Linked DNA regions of Homo sapiens: regions 1, 2, 3, 4, 6 and 7 are each linked to region 5. Evidence: promoter capture Hi-C in 16 types of primary human blood cells and fetal thymus (Javierre and others, 2016). All regions are on one chromosome and are shown on one strand. The core of a region is centred on a gene start or on the middle of the fragment in contact, and the rest is flanking DNA. Distances in the headings are between cores, read along the strand shown. Region 1 overlaps LPP (LIM domain containing preferred translocation partner in lipoma). Region 2 overlaps LPP (LIM domain containing preferred translocation partner in lipoma). Region 3 has its middle 27 kb from the start of TPRG1. Region 4 has its middle 17 kb from the start of TPRG1-AS1. Region 5 holds the start of LPP-AS2 (LPP antisense RNA 2). Region 6 has its middle 94 kb from the start of TPRG1-AS1. Region 7 overlaps LPP (LIM domain containing preferred translocation partner in lipoma).

The links. Contacts are between HindIII fragments. The CHiCAGO score rates a contact against its expected background, and 5 or more counts as called.
Region 1: a fragment that was not itself captured here is called in contact with the fragment with the promoter of LPP-AS2 in region 5 in 2 of 17 cell types (naive B cells and total CD8 T cells); the score reaches 6.9 in naive B cells.
Region 2: a contact is called between a fragment that was not itself captured here and the fragment with the promoter of LPP-AS2 in region 5, in 1 of 17 cell types (neutrophils). The highest score is 8.5, in neutrophils.
Region 3: a contact is called between a fragment that was not itself captured here and the fragment with the promoter of LPP-AS2 in region 5, in 5 of 17 cell types (activated CD4 T cells, neutrophils, total CD8 T cells and 2 more). The highest score is 7.9, in activated CD4 T cells.
Region 4: a fragment that was not itself captured here is called in contact with the fragment with the promoter of LPP-AS2 in region 5 in 1 of 17 cell types (erythroblasts); the score reaches 5.7 in erythroblasts.
Region 6: a fragment that was not itself captured here is called in contact with the fragment with the promoter of LPP-AS2 in region 5 in 1 of 17 cell types (fetal thymus); the score reaches 8.5 in fetal thymus.
Region 7: a fragment that was not itself captured here is called in contact with the fragment with the promoter of LPP-AS2 in region 5 in 2 of 17 cell types (neutrophils and activated CD4 T cells); the score reaches 6.4 in neutrophils.

Annotation. Positions count from the first base shown.
Region 1 is chr3:188,728,615-188,731,472 of GRCh38, forward strand. All of the region lies in intron 8 of LPP (LIM domain containing preferred translocation partner in lipoma), which reads left to right. Among named protein-coding and RNA genes, the nearest start is that of MIR28, 41 kb to the left of the region's middle. The HindIII fragment of the contact is 2,886 bases long and covers 1-2,795 here.
Region 2 is chr3:188,696,599-188,699,458 of GRCh38, forward strand. All of the region lies in intron 7 of LPP (LIM domain containing preferred translocation partner in lipoma), which reads left to right. Among named protein-coding and RNA genes, the nearest start is that of MIR28, 9.2 kb to the left of the region's middle. The HindIII fragment of the contact is 2,080 bases long and covers 409-2,488 here.
Region 3 is chr3:189,143,809-189,146,508 of GRCh38, forward strand. It overlaps a transcript of TPRG1 not described here. Among named protein-coding and RNA genes, the nearest start is that of TPRG1, 27 kb to the right of the region's middle. The HindIII fragment of the contact is 1,946 bases long and covers 450-2,395 here.
Region 4 is chr3:188,962,959-188,965,658 of GRCh38, forward strand. No RefSeq gene overlaps it. Among named protein-coding and RNA genes, the nearest start is that of TPRG1-AS1, 17 kb to the left of the region's middle. The HindIII fragment of the contact is 1,577 bases long and covers 601-2,177 here.
Region 5 is chr3:188,152,733-188,155,473 of GRCh38, forward strand. LPP-AS2 (LPP antisense RNA 2) reads right to left here and starts at 1,356. Exons shown (of 1, transcript NR_036497.1): 1 at 1-1,356. LPP (LIM domain containing preferred translocation partner in lipoma) reads left to right here and starts at 1,425. Exons shown (of 12, transcript NM_001375462.1): 1 at 1,425-1,520. RefSeq lists enhancers at 1-860, 2,660-2,741 and a silencer at 1,293-1,632. The HindIII fragment of the contact is 6,292 bases long and covers 230-2,741 here.
Region 6 is chr3:189,040,731-189,043,430 of GRCh38, forward strand. It overlaps a transcript of TPRG1 not described here. Among named protein-coding and RNA genes, the nearest start is that of TPRG1-AS1, 94 kb to the left of the region's middle. The HindIII fragment of the contact is 751 bases long and covers 888-1,638 here.
Region 7 is chr3:188,756,811-188,759,533 of GRCh38, forward strand. All of the region lies in intron 8 of LPP (LIM domain containing preferred translocation partner in lipoma), which reads left to right. Among named protein-coding and RNA genes, the nearest start is that of MIR28, 69 kb to the left of the region's middle. The HindIII fragment of the contact is 1,892 bases long and covers 515-2,406 here.

The DNA of each region.
Region 1 (2,858 bases), core at 103-2,602, 580 kb after region 5:
TGTGGGTTGCATAGCTTTTTTGTGTCTGTTTTCAATTTCTGTTCCTTTGATAACTGAACAAATAACAGAGATGGTGAAACCCAGCAAGCAAATTATCTTCCAGATTTTATGTGATCTCCCTTCTCTAGTGAGTTGGTATGTCTACTAATGACACAGTAGATTATAAGGTTATTTGGTTTAAGTAAATATTTATGCAGAGCCTATGATATGTCCATCTCTGTCTTAGGTGGGGTGAATTAGAATTACTATAAGTGCTTTCTGAAAAAAAAAAAAATGTACCATGAACAAATTTAGAGGTCTCTGCCCCCAAGAAGTCCATAGACCATTATAGGTTAGAGAATAAAAAATATATGATAATCCCTTTTCCCATGTGATAAATGTTATAAAGGAGCTCTGTACCTATGATTATGAGAGGGAATGTTTGAGAGCTCTAGGAAAAACCTCCCTAGGGAGATTAAGAGGTGATATCTGATGTCTTCATGAAGGAATAAAATGTTTCCAAGTAGAGAAAGAGAAGAAAGATGTTAGATACAGAAGAAACAGCATGTACAAAGGTATAGAGGTAGGAAAACATGGTATTCTGGGAACAGGAAGATGTTACTTCCTAACAGAACTTCTCTGTGGCTGAAGCCACATTGAGTTGAGGGACAAGTAGTGGGACAAGGAAGGATAGAGAGTCTGGAGTTCAGTGATAAAAGATCTTGTGTGATAGTCATAGGAAGGATGTTTTGGATGTTTACCTGTGCAAAATGGGAAATTGTTGACTATTGTCAAACAATGGGTAACATCAGATTAGTGATTTATGTAAAACTGAAGGGATAACCATTTCTACTGCTGTATACCACTTGGATAACCTTATAAAGCCACTTAATAGGGAATAATGGGGCTGGAAATTTAATGGGAATAGATTTAAAGTGCTTGTGGGATAAGAAACATGATATTGCTCTCTTTTGTTCTCTTTCAGTTCAAAACAGGAAGTGCCTAGGTATGCAGAAATGCAAATCAAGCCAGCTATATTTTTGGTGTGTTTTGTGTGTGTTTAGATTTTCACACATCAGCAATACTGTAAGAACACTATGTGGCCAGGCACAGTGGCTCACGCTTATAATCCCAGCCCTTTGGGAGGCCAAGGTGGGAGGATTGCTTGAGCCCTGGGAGTTCAAGACCAGCCTGGGCAACATAGTAAGACCCTGTCTGTACAAAAAGTGAAAAAAAAAAAAAATGGATGGGCATGATGGCATATGCTGTGGTTCCAGCTAATCTGGACGTGGAGGTGGGAGGAGGATCACTTAAGTTCAGGAATTTTTGGTGGCTGCAGTGAGCTGTGACCATGCCACTGCACTCCAGCTTGGGCAACAGAGCCAGACCCTGTCTCCAAAAAAAGAATACTATTATGTGAATAATCCACCAGATTCAACTAAAAAATGGCCATGATGTTTTAAAAGTACATATATACACACATATAGATTTAAAGATTACTTTCAACTTTCTAAGAAATTAGTAGATCTTTAGAAAATCATTGTGCGTATGTGCATATGTGCATTGTTTGTGCTGGTCCCACCTTCAAGGAGAAAATATTTCAAGATCCTGATGCTTACTTAAGAGGTTGTATGTGTTTACCATGGAAAGGACCTTGGAAATCATCTCCTAATTCTGACTTCATTATTTATTTATTTTGATGAAGCAAATGGTGCCCAGATTGAAACAGGAGTGTAAGCCACAGCCACCAAGTGCCAGTGCCCAGGCTAACACTTTTCTCCATTAACTCTGGAAACCTTATTTCCTTTTTGTACCACGTATTTACAGTGTTTGGTAGTTATGAATTGAGTGAATTATCCCAAGGTTGGAGATATCTTGGTACTCACTTGTAAGTGGAGAAACACTAATAGGAAAATATTCTGGGAATCTGGTAAGGAAGTATGAGTGAATTTATCATATTTAACCTTTGTTCAAATACATTAAGCCCTTTCTTCCCTTTGTCATTCTCAAACTGGATCGACATGATAGGAGGAGAAATTTTATCAACTAAAAGGGGTTGTGTCAATAAGTGTTTATGATACCTCTAAACTTAGGCCTTAAAACAACACAATCTGTGATCTGACAGTTCTGTAGGTTAGATGTTCAACATGAGTCTCATCTGGCTAAAACCATCATGTTAGCAAAGCTGCATTTGTCTCTGAAGGTTCTTTCTAGGGGAGAATCCCCCTTGCTTTTTCTGACTTCTAAAAACTGACCACATTCCTTGACTTGTGGCCCTCTTTTTCCATCCTCAAAGCCTGTAACATAGCACCTCTGACCATTTTTTTCATAGTCATTCTGTGTCTGGCCCCAGCTGGGAAAAGTTCTCCAATTGGTAAGGACCTACTTGATTAGATATGACCCACCTGAATAACCTCACATACTCTTCCTATCTCAAAACTCTTAACTTAATCCTATCTGCAAAGTCCGTTTTGTCATATACAGTAGCATGTTCATAGGTTTCAAGCATTTGGACATGGTCCTCTTTGGGAGGCATTACGCTGCCTGTGACAGTGCTCTTCTGATACATTTTCAGTGATCTTCTAGACATAACAATCCTGGTCCTGGGAACATGCATGGCGGGGACCTAAATAAGTCTATTTTTTAAGAGGCCCTACCCTTTGCATAGATTCTAATCTTGGGGTAAAGGAAAGTTTGAGATTTCACTCCACCTTTTTTTTTGGTGCTGGTATTTCCACTGTGGGAAAGATCATTCGGATTTAACAACCACATGAAGCTCCTGGATTATCTGGGGCATGTTTGCTGATTCCCAAGGAAGCTTGATCTTTTTGATGGAGCACTTGAGCTGGTAAGTTATTAGAAGCTGAGCTATAATTTTC
Region 2 (2,860 bases), core at 199-2,698, 540 kb after region 5:
CTCACAAAGTAAATTCTATTTACCCCATTTTATTTTTGAAATAACTAATAGGTAGTAAAATTCAGCATCCTGCACTGGATCATACAATTGGTAAGCTGTGGATGTGGGATTTGAACCCAAGTAAGCAGACCCTAGAACCTATATATCTAAGGCATACTGATTACTATCAACGTTCAATTTTTTGCTTTGTTCTTTTATTTCTCCTTCATATACCTTGATTTCCTGACTGGATTATAAATTCTATGAACTGGTTGCATCTCACTCATTTTGATGACTGCTTTAATGCCTAATTAATTACTATTATTTGTGGATAATTTAATATAGATTTCATAGGAGGCTATAGTTTGCTACACTGCTCGTGTACTCTAGAAACAAGGACCCTTGACTTTTTTCTCTTCTTTGGCTATAAGCTTATCTTCTTACCATGTTGAGATACTTTGATTTGATTTTCACTGGTCAAGCAAAAAAACATGTTCTTGTTATTTTCACTTAGGCACTTTGTCTGCCTCCCTGCTGAGGCCCAAAAATTCAGTGTGATCGGTGTGTCTGTCAGAAGGTAGGATTGCTTGCCTAGGGTGGCATTGTTATTGAACAAAACACATGCCCTTTCTTTGCATCCTAAGTGTCTTGGATTGCTGAGCCAGAACCGCTCTGACTCAAATGAAAACCACCTTGTGTTAGGTGAAAGATGGGGAGTTAACCATTTGTTTGCTGGTTTGCATTTCCCACGAAAAACTCAAAAACAGAAATTTACCTCGCCATGGAAAGTGATGTGCCAAGCGTCATATTTGCATATTAAAACCGAAAACTGATTTGCATGTTATTTCAGTGTCTTGTGTCACGTTCAGGCATCTGTCAAGCCCACTAGACAGAAACAGCTTGTACAGTAGGAAAGTGTTTTTATGCATATCAGACTGAAAATCTAGGTGCCTTATTTTTATCAGCAACTTGTCCACACTTTGGGCTCTCCAATCTCTCCTAGGTTCATACCTGAAAATACTAAAGAAAAGTCTGGAACCCCATGTTTTATAAAGTATGTTTCCTGTTATTTTCTAAGAGCTATCCATTTTTATAATATTCTGTTTAGATAATTTTAAAATTATAAAGAGAAAAACTCAAATTAATCATAATATCACAATCCTGACATAAGTCTTGTTAACATTTGGATATATTCACTTCTAGTAGCTGTTTGATAATACTTACATAGGCTAACATATACTGGCCCTTTTGCATATATATTTTTATACATTTGTAATTATCAGATGTACTATTTTCATATCTTCTTATTTTTTGGCACTATAATGGCAAGAATTATGACAATCCAAGTATCTAAAATAACAGATTAATAAAATCTTATTTTGAGCAGACAGGAAATTAGAACCAGTCAGGGCTGGAGCCGTGGCAACCGAAACTCTGTGCCGTCTTTTTGATAGTGCTTTATTAAAACTGTAGCTTGTAATTGAGGATAGTTTTTCTATGGGACAATGCATAGAAAGCTGTGCATGGTGATAAAACCTTTTTTTCCCGACATTAGAGCAACTAGCCCATTGCATTCTTCCAGGCAACCAAATGAAGATGAAACGTGTGCCTGGAGTCACTGCCAGGCATGTGGGGCACAGCAAAGGCCAAAATATGGTTTTAGTTTGAAAACCCAACCTTGAATAATGGTTCATTCTATTCATCAAACTTTTAGGTCATGGGTCTTGCCTAGGTGAAGCCATCCAATGGAAATAATGTCTTGGAATTCTCTTGCCTTTATTATGTCAAATCTCTAATATATAACATCCATAAAGCCTAATTAATGGGAAAAACTGAGTGTATGTTTTAGCCATAACATTGTGGAAATAGGTTCTTTTAGTTTCACACAAATAGAGATCTTCTCACCCCACCGAGAAAACTCGCTTTCTCCTTTACGGAGGGCCCGCATGGAGGTTTAGAGGGAAGGAACCCTGAAATGAGAACTGTGAATAAGGTTGGCAGGAGATCTTTGACCTAGATTCTCCTCGACTCTGAGGATTTGGCGCTTCTGCTCTGCGACTCGCTTTTCTTACTTCTTGCCTACCCGGCAGGATAACATCAGTGGTTGTACCTTGTCTGCCGAAGCCTAAGGGAGGCTGCTCTGCTCTAAATAGCCAAGCATGAGCTTTACTTTACTATTTGTCTTTTGGTCCTAAAGGCGAGACTGTACAAGAATTAATAGTTGGAGAGGCAGCAAGGCATACGTTCACCAAATGGCATGAATTTCAAGATTTGTAGCTAAAAAGTACTCAGAGTAATTACATCCCTTGCTAAAGCAACAATTAATGTGAAATTCGGGTACACTACACTGAAGTCCTTTATCAGCAGATGGAAAAGTGGAGAGTTACTGGAGAGATCTCATTCTGCAAACATTCTGCTTCCAAGAAGAAAATCATCTTTGTTAGTGGTTTCTAAGTTGTCCCTCTTGATAATTATAACTGACATCTATTTGATATTTAATATGTTACAAAGCTTCTTCATATGAATCAGATATTATTATTCTCCAGTTTATATATGAGAAAATCAACAATAGAAAAAGAAATCACTGGAGAACTTAAGTAGTATCTTAGACATCAGGCCTAAGAGCCAGATGCTCCAAGCCCAGGCACTATTATAGCTGCCTTGACACGTGGAGACGGAGAGAGGTGGGTGTGGAGAGACCTCACTTTCCCCCAGCTCAGCCTAGATAAAACCCTTGTGTGCAGAGACCAGGGCCCCCTGACTGGATGCCCAGGCCTTTTCCCAGCTGCAGTAACTCTTCCAACAACTCCTCCTGTCTGTAATTCAGAATCATCCATCCTTGGCTATGACTCCAAATTTGGTTTAAGAAAAGGCATTTTAT
Region 3 (2,700 bases), core at 173-2,672, 990 kb after region 5:
TGGAAAATGGGACCCTGTTAAGATGCAGGCTTTTCCAGTAGGAAACAGCTAATGGTGGAAGACTGGGGGCTTGAAGCTTGGGCCTCTCTCTCCAATAGCGTGACTTATTCAATCATTTCCGGTGAAACTCCCCCAGACACTTTGCTTTCCTCTTCCATTTCCTCTCTGTGTAGCTTCCTACTTTAGGATCTTCAGGAACTCTTCCCACAGTCTAATGACCAGATCTGCTTTCTGGAAACATTCTCATGTCAGTCATACATGTTTTACTACGATTTTAAAACTTTGAGTTATCTCTGTTAAGAGTATACATATTCTCATTATTGTCTTCTCCTTGCTCACTATAACAAATACTTCTTGAGCCCTTGCTATGCTCTTGACACTGGGAGTACAATGATGAACAAGCAGACATCACCTACATCCTCCTGGATTCAATATGGTTGTGGCAAGAAAGCTTTGTTTCCTATAAGTGGACTTCAGAGATCCACATAACTTATAGGCAACCATTTGTTCCTGCAATTTCAAGGTATTTTTAACCTTTAATTGTGGGTTTAGGAATATTTAGCCAAATACTCCTCCAGGTGACATATAGGCAATGAAGAGGAAACAGTACATAAAATAGTGATGTGACTTCACATTTCGAAACAAAGAGGCAGGTGGTTCTGCTGTCAAACTGAGCATTAAAATATAACTGGGGGTGTAGGTGTGGGAGTTTCTCAATAGCCCTGGAAACAGCTAATATTTTGGTAGATTCACAGGATTTTCTCTTTTAATAAAGGGGATTACTTGCATCTTATCACAGGACTAAACAGTGAAGCCAGGAAATAGTATGAGTTTCCTACTGGTTTTTGCTGAAATTTTGGAACAGATCATTACACAACTGATTCATGGGTATTTTGAAGAAAAGACACTGATCACTAGAAGTTAATAGGAGTTTACCATAAACAGGTTGTGTTAGACACACCCCATTTCCTTTTCTTATTACGCCACACAACTGGTAAATCAGCAGGATGAGGAAGTTTTAGCAGTGGACTTAACACGACCTCTTGTGACGTGATTGCACATAAGCAGGTGAAATATAGGCAGGGTCATGTCTTACACACTGGTTTCACGGGCAGGTGAATAAAAATGACGCTTGAGCCTTGCTAACTGTTCCATGTAAGCTAGAAGGAGGTTTTTGGTGAGGACTAGAAGCCTTTTATTCTGTTCAATATTTTTTGTTAATTACTTGAAAGATTATCTGGAAGAGGGAATACCCAAGTATAAAAATGACACCGGCCGGGTGCGGTGGCTCAAGCCTGTAATCCCAGCACTTTGGGAGGATGAGGTGGGCAGATCATGAGGTCAAGAGATTGAGACCATCCTGGCCAACATGGTGAAACCGCGTCTCTACTAAAAATACAAAAATTAACTGGGCGTGGTGGCAGGCGCCTGTAATCCCAGCTACTCAGGAGGCTGAGGCAGGAGAATCATTTGAACCCAGGAGGTGGAGGTTGCAGTGAGCTGAGATCGTGCCAGTGCACTCCAGCCTGGCAACAGAGGGAGACTCCATCTAAAAAAAAAAAAAACATGCCAAACTAAAACAAAAATCAAATACCATAGACTAACACAAAGAGATGGCGTAATATAGTAAGGAGAAAGAGTTCTGGCATTGGAGAGAGAATGGCCTAACCTTGCAGCTTGTCTCTGACCCCTTGACAGTGAAGTAACATTGAACAGAGACTTACTGTTTCTAAGAGTTCAGTTCCATCACCTATAAGGTAGCAATAGGGTTGTTTGTGATTCAGATCAGATGAGAATTGAAAAAGAAGTGTGTCAACAGCTAGTATCATGCTTGGCACACATTTTCAATAAATTAATAGCAATAACATTAATAATAACAGCAAATTAATATCTAAAATGATCTAGAACTTCTAGAACACAGGACTGAAAACAATGAAGCAAATCTGAACTTAAAAGATATGCGTGGAGATGATATTGGAGGTATCAGGACCATATTTATGACACTCAAGCTGCTAAGAAGTGATTAACACATGTCAGACACTTCAGAAAGTACGTTAATGATGACTTAATTATCTGTGTGTGCTTGAGAAATCACAAAGGAGAATCTTATATTGATATTATATGTGTCTGATATCTTCATATATATGAATGGCTGCCATATTGAAGAGAATATGCATATCTTTATTTGCATTTTTCTAAGAGAAAGCCAGGCTAAAATTGGTAGTAGTTAAAAAGGGAGACAATCTGGATAATATTAAAACCTTTTTCTGTAATAGTCAGAGCTTTACTATCATTGATCTGTGTGGCTTGTGGAACAGGAGACCCTTCATCACATCAGCTGGTTTTCCCTGTACTGAAAAACCAGGCAGTGTTGGTTGCATGATGAATGTATTAAAGCTTTGTTTATGCATTGCCGTGACTAAAGATCAGTTTCATGTTGGGCAGTGAGTTAAATGCTGGTGGCCAAAGGATAAAGATGTGACCTCCACCTTCAGTTAGGTCACAGTTAGGAAGAGAAGGCGCCCGTAAGTCTCTCTGAGGGATCTGAGGAAGACTTAGACAATTACTAGGAATTTTCCAGGCAGATATTCCATTTAAAGAGAGTAGCCAGTGTCAAGGTTAGACGTATGAGACATCATAATGGATTCTCAAAAAAACAAATGTTGTTGGGAGTAGACTTTTCCAGGAAGGCAAGGACCT
Region 4 (2,700 bases), core at 139-2,638, 810 kb after region 5:
GGTAGAAATAAAACTGCACTCTAGAATTTAAAATTATCTCGGCTATACTCAGCAAGTAGGAATGTGTTCAGAGTCTCTGGAGACGTTTTTTCATGATGCTTGGAAATCAATTTCATATCCTAATGCTGTTCTCAAGTTCAGGCTCATGGAAAAATCTGCTTGGAGGGCTCTCCTTGCCCTGGAAATAAGAATGGTACATTTCCGATACCCATGTTCTCTGCCTGTGCCAGGCTCTCCTTGCCCTGGAAATAGGAATGGTACATTTCCGGTACCCGTGTTCTCTGCCTGTGCCAGGCCTCCTTAAATGATATGAACTGTGGCTAGCAATGTTTTAAAATGACCAAAATCATCACATTAGATGATCACCTTAGACAAGGTCAGAGGTGATCCAAGTCAATGGCTAAGTAATCCTGAGGGTACAAAATTCTCTAAACTTTGAGCCTGAAAGAACTTAGATGTAAGCGACAAAAGACACTGCAAAGTAGCTTTACCTAAAAAAAAAAAGTATACATTTGTGGAAAGCAGAACTTCAAAACTCCACTCTGGAACCTCTTCTGAAATATCTGCAGGTTTGACCAGAGAAGTAATTCACGCTGTCAAAGCTTTAAACTGAGATGATAGATGATATGCTCTTGAGGGCAAATATGGGAGTGAAGGCTGGACATGAATCTGATAACCAGCCACTTACTAAGTTAATAACAGGACAAGTGACCTTGTTTCTCAGGGCCTTACTTTCCTCATGTATAAAATGGGGATAATAGTCCCAAGCCCACCCATCTCACATCACTGCTGGGAGGAGCAAATGAGACCATGGATGTAACATACCTTATAAATAGGTCGTGACGTATTGCATACATGGAAGAGGTTGTATTATGGTTAGAACTAAAAGGCTGTATATATTTCAGAGGCAAATATTCAGATTCAAGGCATGTGGTTAGAGGGAGGTACTGCCTTGTCTATCAGAGCCTGGTTTCCAAGTGCTGATCAATAGACTTACAGAATTCTTTTCTCTGAGAGCGGTTGCCCCTCCAGGAATTCCTCCTTGGAGGCAGTTATTGTATTTGGCTGCTGACCTGTGTGTATCCTCAGTTACTGTGTGAGCTCCGCGAGTGTAGGGACCATGACTATTGTAGGAGCATAGCACAATGGTGAAATGTGCAGGATTTGGGGCCAGGCGACCTGGGCCAGTCCTAGTTCCTGGCTTTTCTGCTTATCCACCATCTGGCTTTGGGTGAATTATTGAACTTCTTCAAGTCTTAGTTTTCTCACCTCTGATATGAAGATAATAAATATACCTACCTCATAGTGATGTAAAAAAGATTAAATGAGTTGGTATATGTCAAATCTGGAACATAGAAAGTGCTTAAGGAATGCTGGGTATTTATTATTATTTTTATTTGTTACTGTTGTTGTTCCCTTCATATTTCTAGTGCTTAGAACAATGTTATGTTATGAATAACATAACAGTTATTCAACAAACAGATAATGAAAGACTGCAAAAGAAAGTCTGCATCCCAGCAGATACTTACACCAGGATTAATGAATCCTAAGGGTCAGAAAAAAATGGAAAAGGACTGAATCATGTGGGTTGGGTTTGCAAACTTTAAGGCCTATTTTGACATTTTGTCTTTACCAATAACAAAAACACATCTACTATACTGAATATTGGTATAACAAAGAATTCTAAATAATTTTTAAGGCCAGTGTCTTACTAGATTCCCACACCAACCTTGTGCGGGAAAGTATTATTATACTATCCACTTTGTAGATAAGGAAATAGAGATTCAGAGAGAGGAAATATCTTGTCTGACCATCACACATCTGGTAAACAGAGGTGCTGAAATTAGAAGTTGGTCTTCTGGCTCATTGTTCGTTCCTCTTCCTGGGAACGAACGCAAAGCTAATTCATCCTGGCACTGCGTCTCTGACAGAGGCGATGGAGGGCATTTTGCGGAAGAGCCTGGTTTGTCTCCCTGACTGCAACAACCAAATTAGGAGTGTAGCTCCTAGATATCTAGATTCCCTACAGTCATTCATTAAGAATCTCTCACCTGTGAGTTTAGCTAAGGCTTTGTGAAGCTCATTTTCAGCTCAGCCTATACCTTGGTTTTGAATCCTATTTTCCTTGGCATATGAAATGTGCGTCACCTTCATTGCTCTGGGTTTTCCCCGGTGAAAGCTTAGCCGATACAACCAGTCCCTGCTCTGAGCATGGAAACCGGAAGCCCTGAAGGTTTTTTCAACGTAGGCTATTTAGGCAAACTAGACATTGCAGTTTAATTACACCATTGCTCAACTTCATAGATCCTTCAGATTGCCTTCAGAGAAAAACATTTCTCTCAATAATTCAAACCCCTGATAATTTCCTCTGAGAAATTACCAGCAGATTGCAAAAACAGCATAGTTATTCACTACGTGACCTTTTCTTCAGTCCCATTGTCTTGTACCGCTCTGCAGCATTGCATATTTTTGACAATTTTACCTCTAGTACCTCTTGAAATTTAACGTTACTCTGGTTCTCCTATACCTGCATCCTGGCCTTCTCTAAAAACTTCGTAGCTTTTTCCTTCTCTACCTTATAACTTTGGACATTTCCCTAAGTCTAAACCTGTGGTCCTCCGTTTTTTCTTCTCTTTTTTTCTTTCTTTTTCACCTGCTCTGCCAGTGTTGTGCTAGGCACTAGGAAACAAAGACATGTGA
Region 5 (2,741 bases), core at 106-2,605:
GAGAAGTGCAAGGAAAGGAAGTCTCAGGGTATGGAATGCTTTCCTGGCCATGGCTGCTGCGCGTCATAATCCCCTAACACAGTTAAGTGGTGGTTCTCATCGTCGTTCACCCTTACAGATGTCAGAGGGGAAAGAAAAATCCAACTCAAAACTTCCAATGACAGGCTTGTCTGTATTCAAACCAGTTCATCTCGTTCGCAGACTTTTTTGAAGCTATAAGCACAGAGCAAGCTTTCTGGGCGGGGCTCAGAAGTAAACGTTAAACTCCAGGGATTCATTTATTTGAGCACAGGACAGAGGAAGTTGCCCTGAAGCAACTGATTGTCATTGATATTCAGGGCTCGCTGTCAACCAGGACCTTCCAGGAACTGGCTCTGGGCCAAGAGCAGTAGAAATCACTGGGTGGTCCGCACAGCTCGCGGGCATCTAACCTGCTTCAAGGCTCAGGGCTAAAAGGGAGCCAGGGCCCTTCCTGGAGGCGGGAACCCAAGTGGGAGGCAGAGCGCCTGGGCCCGCTCCTCGATCTGCTGAGTGACGACCCTGTACAAGTCATTTCTCTTCCGAGAGCTTCAGTTTCCTCACGTGCCAAGCGGACGGGTTGGAAGTTGGTCTTTGCCAGCTCTGACACCTTGTAAGTTTTGAGTCTTGCTGGGAATCCAGGGCGGGGCTCACGAGGAAAATCTTGGAAGGGGATTTCATGGCTGGATCTCTTCCACTCAAGCTCAGTGCCCTAATTTGACGCCTTAATAGTAGACGCAGGCTTTTCCATTTTCCAGGAGCCCCCTGACGCGGCCGCTTCCTCCTACGTCTCCTTCCTCTTCCTCTAGCAGGGGCAAAGTCTCCACATCTCCCTCTTTCTCTTCCTCCTTTGCAAGCTCCCTGCATTCCCGCGTCTCCTCCTCTTCCTCCCAGGAAATGCAATGCCCTCAGTGCGCCCACCTTTTGGCAAAGCCACTGCCGGCTGCGGGTTTCCCCTCCCCCGCCAGGCGAGCTCTGCGCGGCGGCTTCGCGGGCACACGCCTTCCCATACCTTACATGGACAAATGCGTGCAGGCAAAGTCAGGAATTCAGGCCCCTGACGTCAGCCTCCAGCGCTCAGGGCACCGCACGGGAGACCAAGGGGAGGGGGTGGGGACGGTGGGGAGGAAGGAGGGGGAAAGGCACCAACCAGCAGCCGCTCCAGCCCTGCCGAAGTTTCACTTTTTGTCTGTGGGTTCGTTCCCGGGTCCCGCGCGAGCTTTCCCGGGATAAGTAGCTTTAGCGATCGGGAGACAGCCGGGCGCTGCAAGGTAAGGGCTGGCTGCACGGCCCGGGGCGCGGGGCGTGGGGCGCTGGGCGCGGGCGGCGCGCTCGAGGAGGCCAGTGTGGGGCGCGGGGCCGGGCCTGTCCGGGGCTGGGGACAATGGGAGGGGGAGTGCCCGGGCACCTCCTCCTCTGCCTCTGCCTCCGCCTCCAGCCGCCGCCGCCGCCGCCGCCGCCGCCACCACCACCGCCGCTGCCCCGGCTGCCTCCTCCCTGAGGTATTGTTGCAAATCCTTCCTTCCCCTCACCCTCCACCCGCGGGCGCCTCGGGAACCCCCAGCCCTCCCCCGGCGCGAGCGCCTCCGGGGTGGCAAGAGCGCAGGGCGCGCGCCCTGCTCTGGCCTGGCCCGCTGTGCGGAAGTGCCGGCCGCGGCCCAATCACGGGGTGCACGCCATGGGGGAGGGGGACCCAGAGTTTTTCCAAAAGCGTCGACCCCAGGCTAGGCGGGGTTGGAGCCTTGCGCGCCCCCTGCCCGGACTTTTCTGGGCGCCCAGGGGGCGGGGCCACGCCCATCCGCTTAGAGCTTTCGCGGAATCACAGTTGTCACAGCGGAAAGGGCCTAGACCCAGTCCTCCAAGTCCTCCCATTTTACAGTTGGGGCAGCTGAGGCCCAGAGAGAAGGAGGGTCGCCCGGAAGTTATTTACTAGAGGCCAGACCATAATTCAAATAGTTGGCTCCGGACTTAAGTTCCCTTTCTCTAAGCATTTCTCTAGCACCCTGTGTGTGGCAGACCCTGTGCTGGGTGTATTGGACGTTGCCCTCAAGGAACTCAGTTGAACCTGGGAGTCAAACCTGGCCTAGGGTAGAAAATGCTAAGTGCTGGAGCAAAGGCGTGGACAAAGTTAAAGGAAGTTCCAGGGAGGGGGTTTGATTTTCTGGTCCCTGGGACGGCCTTTTGGAGAGTCCTGCACTGAATGGGGTTTTTGGAGGTTGAGGAGTTTCCTGAAGCCAGCTAGCGGCTTGGAGGAAGACATCTCTTCGAGGGAACCGTGGGCCAGAGAAGACTAAGTAGTGTGGGAAATGGAGATGAAAGTATAAATATTCTTTAGTTGGAGGCAAGGGGTTGGGGATGGGGGAGGTTGTGATATGAGATGAGCTAATCAGTGGAATTGTGCCTGGGTGCTTGGACAGGGCAGAGTCTTTGGAACCTCGGAGTCGTAGGAGAACTGAAAAATCTCTCTGGCTTCCCTTCCCTTAGAAGGGATCCACTGCTTTCCCTCCCCCAACACAAAACAACTAGCGAGAACTCAGGGTCTTCTCTGGGGCTTTTGCTAGTACCAAACTCACTTAACTGTGTTTCCAGTCCCCTTTCTCTTTCCATTCCTTCCCCTTTTACTAAATCTCTTGCCTTTCCTGTAAAATTCACTCTCACTAAGGTGTTGATGACTTAATGGCTTACCTTTCCCTGCACATGTGCATTTTAAGAAAGCCTAAAGT
Region 6 (2,700 bases), core at 13-2,512, 890 kb after region 5:
AAAGTCTTAAAGAAACGATGGGTAAAACATTCCATCCAGGTTGTTTTCTTTCCCCATGATTTGGGCACAAGTCCCTAGGGACTGAGCCACGAGATGAGTCAAAGGGTGGTCCTCAGTGTCATTCTTCCTCTATTGCTCAGAGGCACTTTTCAGGCATCTCTGCCTGGGCTTTGGCAGCTATTCCTTAGATTGACTTACTTCCCAAGAGGCTCCTCAAGCCTGTTCAGCCCTGGTCGCCCCTCCACAGTCTTCTGGTCTTTCCCTGACTGTTTCCATTTTAGGCTGAGAGCACCTGCATCTTGAACCAGGGTGCCTTTGCACTTTAGCCTGGATAACATCACAGCTCTAGATTTGGTGAAAGGAAACAGAATCAGGGAACCCCTGAGCCACAGCCATTTTAGGATGTCGCTAGGCTCCTCTACTTCCTCTTTCCTTATTGCTCCCAATTCTTTGCTTCCTTCTTGCTAAGTTGGAAGGAGCCCACCTCCCCCTAGAAAGAGGATCATTTCATAAGCTGGATTCTCATGTAGCATGGTCATTGCATTCCTTAAACTCACCTCTAGGTCCCAAATGATAAACTAAAAGCTGCTTGAGTTATTCAAGTAACAGGAAAAATATAGTATTGCAACTAAGAATCTGAACTTTGAAATCAGAGAGTCTCGGATTCAAATCCTGGCTCTTCCCTTTCTGGCTGTATGCTTTGGGCAGATTATTTAACAACTCTGAGCCTCTTTAGCACGTACTTCACAGGACTATTGTGATTAAGTAAGCACTCAATGTGTGGGAGATATTATTGTTTCTAATTAGGGAGCAAAGCAAAACTGCACATGGGGCATGGGCAAGGCACTCATGGCTTCCCTTCTCACCCCATGTGGGGAGGTGGAACAAGCTTCCTAGTCTTAGCCCTTTACTCAGATGCCAGCAATTTTCTGCCATGTTACCTGGTGATGGGGCCCTCTGGTGGCAGGAGAGAATGTGATTTCTTTTTGAGAGACCAGCTTGCCCTTAGATCTGCTTTCAAGTGGAGGCGAAGGGTTGGGGAAAACCCCAGCAGATTCTGAAACTGCCATGCACAAAGGCCTCAGACTCAGATGCTGAGCTGTCCCTGTTGCTGCAGAACTGTTTATTTCCTTAGGATGTTGAACGTAAAATATACAACTAGACACTGCCTTCTCTTGCTCTCAAAATACCATCTCAGGCCATTGCTTGAGCCTCACCCAATAATTTGGATTCTGATATGAAAATCAACTTCCCTACCTCCAGCCTTAGGATGCTTCTGTATTGTTAATGCCAATGTTAGCAGCTTGTTTCTGAATCATTGGGGAGCTCTGTAAACACATGTTGATGGGAATTGACCTATCTTCTTAAGGTTAGGTCCTTAAGAAGCCCTAAACATTGAACAATGAAAATATCCTCAATTTTAGAAATTAAAAAAAAATCTGAAATTATAAAACAAGTATTAAAAAGTCAAAGAAAGATAAACTTTTAGCTATAATGACAACCTTAACGTCCTTTTTTGAACTATCAAGAATATATTTCTTTTCCAATTTCAGCTTTTTTGGTTAATTTTATTTTTCTAGTATCTTACCTTGTGTTTTATCCCTCTTTGGGTCATCCTGATCTGCTAGGTGTATAATAAGCTTTATGTCAGAGGTGAGTAAAATATTGATAACATTTTCTATCTATAAGATGTTTAATAATTTATAGGTTACTTAGGTATCTGTTATGTTTCAAAAATCTCATGCCAATCCTGGTTAATTATGGATTTTCAAGAAATACTTTTTGAATGAAGAGGAAGGAGGAAGACGTTGTATCTTCAGATGAACAAATAGAGTCCTGGAGAGGTTGTGTGGATCTCTGGGCTAGCAGGGGTCAGAGTTGGCTCACCAACCCAGGTCTTCTCACTGCTTCTTTATATTGTATCTCAGCTGCTTGAGGCATACTTGATGATCCCTCATGAAAATGAACTCAATCATGCTTGAAGAAAAGTATGCTACACAATGGAAAGCTAAATAGTTTCTTTAGGCATTGAGATAAATCATCATATAACAACATGTAATCTGCTAAGGCTGGGAGGAACCTTATTTTATGGATGAGGAAACTGAGGTCCATAGGAAGGAAGAGCTACAAGCAGGAGGTTGCGTGGTGGCTCACCAGAAGAGCTGTCAAGGAAACCCTGGTCTCAACCCAAAGACCTCCATAAAGGAGACAGCTGAAACAAGCTAGAGTAAGCCCGGTGCCTGTCACCGTTTGTAACCAGAGACAATGACCACACTGTTCACCCATTGTTTATTCTCCAAATATTTTGTAAAGCAAAGGAGAACACTATGGGATCTGCTAACTATAAGGCCTTTCTACTTTCACCTTGTTTCACAAGGTCACAATTAAATGGGCCCTGTTCAAAAAATAGAAGGAAAACTATATATAGATTGAATCCAAACCGAAAGATGAATCTAAACCACAAAATATTGGCTTGAACATAGGGCCTCATGGTGCCTGAGTTTTAATAAACATAAAATTCTTTCTTTGGGGAAACAACATGATGGGGATACAGATTAAAGAGTACGGTTTAAAGGGTATTGCAAAGACCCTGAGGCTTGGAATGAGGAGTGTCAGATTGTGGAGATGCTTTCAACACTTCCACTGACTTTCTCTGTGACCTCGTGCAAGATGTTTCTTTCTTAGCCCTCAGTTTTTCCA
Region 7 (2,723 bases), core at 211-2,710, 600 kb after region 5:
CCTGTGTCTGAGTCCAGCATATTAGGCTGACCCACTCTAGAGGAATATTCTCCAAAGCATAAAGTAGAAGATCATTCCTTAGGAATACAATACAGTCCATCTGTTTTCATAGCTGAGAAGGCAATTCCGTGTCATGCCATCATGGAGCCACTGCAGTGTTTTGGTATCCAAGCCATAGTCACTCATTCTCTCCGTGAGGGAAAACTAGAATGTCTTTTCCTCTTCCACCTTTACCTTTCAAAATTCCATCCTTGAAGGTTCGGCTCAAATGCTTCTTTCTCCACACAACCTTTCCTGAGCCCCTGTGAGTGTGGTTTTCCTTCCACATTCCATAGCACTTTCTTCTAAGACGTGTTACATGCTTTGCCATGTGACTATTGCATGTAGGTTGTCTTGACTGTGAGAGGCACTGACATCGTGACATCGTCGAATTCATTTTTGTATATCACACAGAAGGAGAACATAGTCGTGGGCAAGAGTAGATATTTGAGGTTGAATAGATGGACCATTTCAAAGCTTATCTTTTCAGCCTGACCTTTAAGGCTTTGCTCTGGCCGTTCCCTCTAAATCAGTGATTGAAGTTTGCTCCCAGATCCTCATGAGTAGCTATCAAACTCTCCATAAGCCATGTAGGCTCAGGTTCTTGGATTCCAGGTATTACACTTCGGGCATCATAGTCTGAATCAAAATTGCTACTTTTAGCTGCTTAGTAGACTGCCATTACCAATAGTTTAATGAGAACTACTTTTTTAGGGGACGGGGGGAAGTGTGGTCCACAGATCCCTGATAGCCCTTCGTGTACTATGTAGTGAATCTGCTTGACATCTAGAAAAGGGAAGAGTAATATAGAAAAAGAATTTTGTTGACCTGCCTGCATTTAACAAATGTAAAATGTAAAATTACAGCTTTCACAGGAATCTAATATGCTTTTAATAATCATATGGATTGGTAATCCATTTACTCCTAATCCCTAATTCGTTTTCTGCAATGAAATGTTGTCAAAGGGTGGCATGAAGCTGTTAGAATTTAAGCATGATTTTCAAACATAGCACATTTTTTTTGTGGTTTTGTTTTTTTGGTTTTTTTTTTTTTTTTTTTTCAGAATAATTTCAAAAATAGTGCCATATGAAATAGTTTTGTTACTGTTGGCAGGAAAGTCCAAAATGTTATCTCATAATAAAAACAGGTACAAGTTCAGTCTTGGATAAAAACTTTTGAAGTCTGCCACAAACAAATACTATACAAAATTTTTTCATCAAATGTCAAGACTGTGGTATCAAGACTTTATAATGATATCAACTGTAGTGGTGACAGCTTAGTTTCCAATACTTTAACTCTTTTTCCAGCACTTCATATTTCTTTTTGGTTTGAGATGAAGTCTCGCTCTGTCACCCAGCTGGAGTGCAGTGGCGCCATCTCAGCTCACTGCAACCTCTGCCTCCCGGGTTCAAGCGATTCTCCTGCCTCAGCCTCCTGAGTAGCTGTGGTTACAGGCACACACCACCACGCCCAGCTATTTTTTGTATTTTTCATAGAGATGGGGTTTCACCATGTTGACCAGGCTGGTCTTGAACTCCTGACCTCAGGTGATCCACCCACCTCGGCCTCCCAAAGTGCTGGGATTGAAGACATGAGCCACTGCACCCAGCCTTCATATTTCTTATTCCTTAGGAAAAAAACTAAGATGTATACTTTGGGTTATATTTAAAGTCACATTCAAATCCCACAACAGGATATAAAGAAATACTTTTCAGGGCCAAATACAACTGGAGAGGATTAGAAATAAATTTACCTTTTTTTCTCTCACGTTGAAACATCTAGCCCTCCCATGTTTGAGTGTGAAATGGCTGTCAATCCAATGTGATGGAGTGCTGAAAGCCGTCTTCAGTGAGAAGTCTCTCCATAATGCTCCCTAACATCAGATCCATGTTAATCCTGATGCACAGAACTGGGAATAGGTAATATAGCATAGTGTTTAAGAGCACAGATGCTGAAGTTAGACTGCTTAGGCTGGAATTTAGTTAACCATTTGTGTGACTCAGTTTCCTCATCTGTGAAATAGGCATAATAACAGTACCTGCATATAGACTGTTGTGAATATGAAATGAGTTAATATATCTAAAGCCCCTAGAAAAAGTCTGACATATGTGAAGCACTACATTTGCTATACCTTATCTATCAAAGCCTACAGCTTCTGGCTAACATTCCCAGTGTTCTATAATTATTAGATAGAATTTTTTTTAACTTAGTAGAAACAAAGACTAAGAAGGGAAACTAGATGTGGACGTGACGTCTAGCTCAAGATTCCCATGATGGAGCCACATAGAGATATGGATGGCAACCAGCATAATGCCTCTCACTGACATAACTATTTGTCTGAATTTATATTTTATTGTTATTATTTAAAGCTTACTGCAAATTTTAAAAACTGAAACCTGATGTCCATATGTAGGCCAGATGCCACATTAATCAATTTAAGAATGCTGGAGCTTCGCAGAATACTGCATGAACAACGAGAACCGTGGCCCTGAAAGACTCAAAACCCTACAGTATATGAAACTATTGCAGGATGTGTGGATGTTCAAAGGAATAACAGACTTGGAAGCAATGCTTACTGAATTTTGATGTATTAAAGGATGTCAAGTCCAAGAGAGAGATAAGGTCTCAGAAGACAGAACTAGAACCATGGGGTAAGCAGTTAGAATGAGGAAGCACTATGGCTC